Linked DNA regions of Homo sapiens: region 2 is linked to region 1. The links are contacts of gene promoters, found by promoter capture Hi-C in blood cells and fetal thymus (Javierre and others, 2016). All regions are on one chromosome and are shown on one strand. Each heading gives the region's core, a stretch centred on a gene start or on the middle of the fragment in contact. The rest is flanking DNA. Distances are from core to core; before and after follow the strand shown.

Evidence for each region. The method cuts DNA at HindIII sites, captures the fragments that hold promoters and counts their contacts. A CHiCAGO score of 5 or more calls a contact.
Region 2: a contact is called between a fragment that was not itself captured here and the fragment with the promoter of STON1-GTF2A1L in region 1, in 1 of 17 cell types (neutrophils). The highest score is 5.2, in neutrophils.

Annotation. Positions count from the first base shown.
Region 1 is chr2:48,528,606-48,531,305 of GRCh38, forward strand. It overlaps STON1-GTF2A1L (STON1-GTF2A1L readthrough), which reads left to right and starts at 1,320. Exons shown (of 11, transcript NM_001198593.2): 1 at 1,320-1,383. It overlaps STON1 (stonin 1), which reads left to right and starts at 1,549. Exons shown (of 4, transcript NM_006873.4): 1 at 1,549-1,611. RefSeq lists an enhancer at 1,542-2,089 and a silencer at 1,681-1,880. The HindIII fragment of the contact is 9,785 bases long and covers 1-2,700 here.
Region 2 is chr2:48,095,110-48,097,957 of GRCh38, forward strand. No RefSeq gene overlaps it. Among named protein-coding and RNA genes, the nearest start is that of FBXO11, 190 kb to the left of the region's middle. The HindIII fragment of the contact is 6,013 bases long and covers 1-2,848 here.

The DNA of each region.
Region 1 (2,700 bases), core at 70-2,569:
ATTTCAGGCGCTCGAGGAGTGCCCTCCTGGAACGTCAGTTTCCTTCCTCAAAGCCCCGAGGGCAGGTTCTTAACACTGGCTGGAGGTCAAATAGGGTACTGACTATATTTCCATTTCACCAGCGAACTCCAAGGTCAAAAACAAGGCTACACCTGACAGAACATTTAAAAAAGAATTACACTGCTGTGCAAATACAAAGAAGTGTCCACTGATTTTCACCAACCCTGGGTGCACTGCCTATGAGTTAGCCCAGCTCCTCAAGGAAATTTACGATTAAAAAATAATTCATTGCCTTTCCACCTTCCAGCATAGTACTTCAAGTTGAGATGCTCACCGGGGCCTCCTAACCCCTCTCTTTGGATGCAACCCCTTTCTTCCTAGGTGGTCCATCCTACAGGACTGTTAAACCAATATTTCTTATTTGCCATTTTGAATCCTCAAGGATTCACTGAGTGCCTACTCTACACCTTCGCTTGAAAACTTTCAGAGATTTCCTGTATTCTGCTTCATGCCCAGCTCCACCTTCCCATCTAAACATTGCCCACTTACCCTAAGCCTTCCAGTCTTGCCAACCTCCAAAGCACCATGCCATGGGGCCTAAAATGCCCTCTTCTCTCCCCTCTGAGCCTGTTCAAACTCAGCTCAGTCTCTCGTCCTGGGTTTTGGTGTCTCTCCAGGGTAAAGGGGTGGGGAGGGTGCCTTCATTCTGACTGGCTCCCAGTGAGGCAGCCCCCCTTGAGGAAGAGGCTGAGATGCCAAGTGACTTGCCTGGAGTCATTTGCCAGCAGGCGATGGAATAGGGACTACGAGACACCCTGCAGCCTCTCCTGGGAGGACAACGCCCCTTCTCCCTCTCCATGCACTCTTGAGGCAGCAAAGAGGAGGCATCTGGACGCGTTTACCTCCTCCCCACCCCCACAGCTTGGCCCTCACTAAACTATCTTGTGTCCTTCCTCCTGCTATGATTGATTCGCCCAGGAAGGTGGGGCTTCATCTTTACCTTTCAAATATAATTCTTTAGTTCTCCTAATTACAAGGTGGGGGGTGGGGGGTGGGGGTGGGGTGAGGCGGGGGGTACAAAACAAAACAAAACTCCATGAAGCAACTTAGAAAGCACGACCGCAAAGGCCCTCCATCATCCCCACCCAGAGGTGAGGACAAGGTCTGGGGGTGCTGGGTGGCTTCAGACCTTCCACGGGTCCAAGCTATCTGCTTCAAGAGGGCATCGAAAGGTAACTCATAGACTTACCGCCCCCGCCCCCCGACTTTTGCAGGAGGGAGCGCTCTCCCCTCCTCTGGGAGGCTGGAGACTCGGGGACAGAAGATGCGCTGGAGGGAAGAGAACGGAGCGTCGGACACCAGAAAAACTTTGGGGGATTCGGGGTGAGAAAGAAGGCGTGAAGAGAGAAGGGAGGCTCAGCAGGGGAGGAGGGGCGGGGGCGGGGGCGGGAGCGGGAGGAGTCACTGCGCCGCGGCCGCCCCTCCCCGCCCTCCACTCGGCGGCCCCGGGTCTTCCTCCCCCTCCTCCTCCCCCTCCTCCTCCCCCTCCTCTTCCTCCGCCTCCTGGTGTGGCTGGCTGCGGCCAGAATCGGAGCCCCAACCGCGCTGCCGGTGAGTGACCAGCCCCAGGGGACAGAGACGGGAGGCCTGGGACCCCCCCTCTCCAGGGTGGGGCCTCCCGCCGTGTCTGGGAAAGTTTGCGGGCGCCCCGGGACGCGGGCATCTCCAGGGCCGCTCGGCGCCTCCCCATCTCCCCGCGCCCGCCCTGGCCGCCCCCAGGGGCGCCCTGGGGCCCGCAGAGGGATGGCCTCCCGGCAGGGACTCCTCGGCTCCCCTCTGTTCTGAGACTGCTGCTGGGACCGGGGTCCGACTCTAAAGAGAAAACTCAAACAGCAAAAAAAGGAATATCGACTCAGTTCCGAGGGCGGGGGCCGGGGCTCGTTCTCACCCGCGCGCGGCCCCTCGACCTCTCGGACCCGGGCCACCAGCTCTGCGCCCCTCACGCCTCCCTCGGGGTCTCTGTGTCTCTCTCCCGCTCCCGGACTCCCTCCTCCTTCTGACTGCTGTTATTTGGGCTGTTGTCCCTCCCCGCTCCCTGGTACCTCAGCTCGGACCTTAGCCTGTGCCTGCAGCCCGGAGTCCCCTCCTGCCCTGGAAGGCAAGGAGCCAGGCCACGGGGCCACAGCCGCGGGGGCCACCACACTGGCCCAAATATTTCCTGCAGGTATGACCATTCACTGGGTATTGGGGTTGGGTCCCTTGGACCCACAAACTGAACCTCGTGGGTACAGGGAAAAATTAAAATATATTCCTCCTTAGGATTGTACTGCTTCTGTTGGTTTGGCATCTTTTTATTTTTAACCCTTCTAACTGTGCTTTCTTCGAATAATAATGATACTTCATGTAATTAGCGTTTCTAATATCTAAAGACAGAAGAAGGAAGAAAATAAACGGAAGAGAGAGAATGCTTGCTAAAAATACTCATTTTTGACTTCAGTCCACACTCGACTGTTTTCCTGGGAGATAGAAGTTCAGTGTAGCTTGTTTTCAGACTAACCGCAAACACGATTACAGCCTCCTCCAGGCTAGAAGTTTTAATTTGCCTGACATGCAGCACACTGTTTGTTGGTATTCCCAGCCTGGCATTCCCGTCTGCATAGCTCTAGTCTCCCTCCCAACTCCCCCACCCCCACTTTCTTT
Region 2 (2,848 bases), core at 192-2,691, 430 kb before region 1:
CCATTGTCCAAAGACAAAGCAATCAACAGAACCAGATCCAGAGGTGACCCAAATATTGGAATAATCAGGCAGTTCACTTTGAAATAATTATGAGTGTGGTATTATGGGATCTAGTGGAATGGATAGACAAGAGGCATAAACACTAGCTGGGCATAGCGGCATGCACCTGTAGTCCCCGCTACTCGGGAGGCTGAGGCAGGAGGATCGCTTGAACCTGGAAGGCAGAGGCTGCAGTGAGCAGAGATGGTGCCATTGCATTCCAGCCTGGATGACAGAATGAGAACCTGTCTCAAAAATAAATAAATACATAAATAAAAATAAGCAAATAAAGAAATAAAAGACAAGAGGCATAAACATATACACAGACTTATCAGCAAATTGGATACAGTAGAAAGAGTCAACAAACCTAAAGATAGGTGGATAAAAATGATGTAAAGTGAAATACAAATGAAAAAAAAGAATGAGGGAGATAAACAGAATATAGCAACCAAGAGCTGTAGGACAACATCAAAGAGTCTAATATACATATAGTTATAGAAGAAGTAAAGAAGAGAAATTTGAAGAGATAATAGCTGAGAATTTCCAAATTTGATGGGAAAAAAAACAAACAACAAATCACAAATCCAAACTCAGAGAAATAACCTGATTACAGATTGTAGGAGGTTATAAACCTTGACAGTAACCGAAAGGAAAAAAAGAAACCTTACAAACAGAGGAACAGGATGATAATGGCAATAAACTTCTCATGAGAAACAATGCAAGAAAAAAGAAAGTAGAGCAATATCCTTAAAATATTGAAAGACAAAAAATTATCAACTCAGAATATAATACCTGGTTAAAATGATCTCGAAAATTAAATCAAATCTATTTTAGACAAACAACGTCTGAGAGAACTCATTTAGCAAACCTGAAATACAAGACATTAAAGGAAGTTCTTTAGGCAGGGGTATGATACTGGAGGGAAATTTGGATCTACGCAAAATAATGAAGAGTTCCAGAATGGTAAGTGACGGTGAACAGATTACAAGTCTACCTCTGAGTTTTTGTTTTGTCATTACTATTTTGAACTTATTAAAATTAATCACAATATGGGTTATGTTATATGACTTATATTTTAACTTCTTAGCTATCTGAAAGAAACCATAGATCTTTGATAATATTTAGGAAGCATTCAAGTTTTATCAGTAACACATGTATAAGAATCTCTCAAGATAGTTTACTTAATCAAAAGTGACTAATCACATTCCTTCAAATTAATTTTATTATCTAAAATTTCATAAGGTGAACTTACCTCAGATTGTAGCAACACATGTACCTGTACACATACACAAAGATAGAAACATCTATATATGCATCATGTAAGTCCAAAGACATATAAATGGATATAAAAGATACACATATGTATTGATTCATGACTCATTTATTACTTTTTTTTTTAACTTTTATTTTAACCTCAGGGGTACATGTGCAGGTACATAGGTAAACTTGTGTCATGGGGTTTTGTTGTACAGATTATTTCATCACCCAGGTCTTAACCCTTATACCCATTAGTTATTTTTCCTGATCCTCTACCTCTTCCACCCTTCACCCTCTGATAGGCCCTAGAGTGTGTTGTTCCCCTCTGTGTGCCCATGTGTTCTCATCATTTAACTCCCACTTCTCAGTGAGAACATGCAGTATTTAGTTTTCTGTTCCTACATTAGTTTACTAAGGATAATGGCCTCCAGCTCCATCCATGTCCCTGCAAAGGACATTACCCCATTCTTTTTTATGGCTGCATGGTATTCCATGGTATATATGTACCACATTTTCTTTTTCTTTTTTTTTTCTCTTTCTTTTTATTATACTTTAAGTTTTAGGGTACATGTGCATAACGTGCAGGTTAGTTACATATGTATACATGTGCCATGTGACTCATTTATTACTTAAAGTAAGCAATTTACCTTTTACTAGGTACTATGCTAGGGTCTGGAGATAATAACCTAAATTAGTCATGATTAGTACCTGGCTTAAGGAAGCTCATGGTCTAGTGGGAGCCAAATGCAAAATAAATAAACAATATGGAACTGAATGATGTGTGCCACATTAGCCATATACATAAGACACCAAAGCTGCACAGAGAAGGGTAGAATTAATTCTCTCTAGAGGAGTCAGAGAGGACAAGTAATGGTAGAAGATCCTGCCATCACAGGAATAGACGTCTTTTCCATCACAGCAAAAAAAGTCACGTAGTGATGTGCAAAAAGATGGATTGAAGGCAAGCTACTCTCCAGGAAGTTTGTATAATGGTTCAAGTGAGAGATCTAAAGTAGTATTGGTGAGTATGTATCCTGGATAAATTTAGAATATAACAGTCAGACTTGCTGAACAATTGGATGTGGAAGGATGAGAGAGAAGAGGAATTTAGAGTGAATACTGATTTCTGGCAGGTGAGAAAATGAGTAATTATGTTACTAGCTAAGATGGAAATATATAAAGACACAAGAACAAAAGGAAGAGACATTAGCACTCAAGAGATGCAAACAAAATTTTGCAAGCTGGAAAGCAAATGGAGGCGAGAAAACTGATTGCAGAGTGTAGGAGGTTATAAATCACTGAGTGGAACACTGATGAGTGGATAATCACTTGCAAATCCACAAGAACCATGGCGGTGCGAGACATGACAATGAAAAATAGAGGGACAATTATAAGAGTTGTTGGATCCTCATTCTACTCCCTTTTTCCACTTTCAAAACTCTGAACAAATGGCATAATGCCATCTCAATGGGTGATTAGAGGATTCTTTCCCAAAGAAACTGGCTGTAGGGACAAGTGCTCAACCTATTGATATTTGGAAATTCCTCAGTGA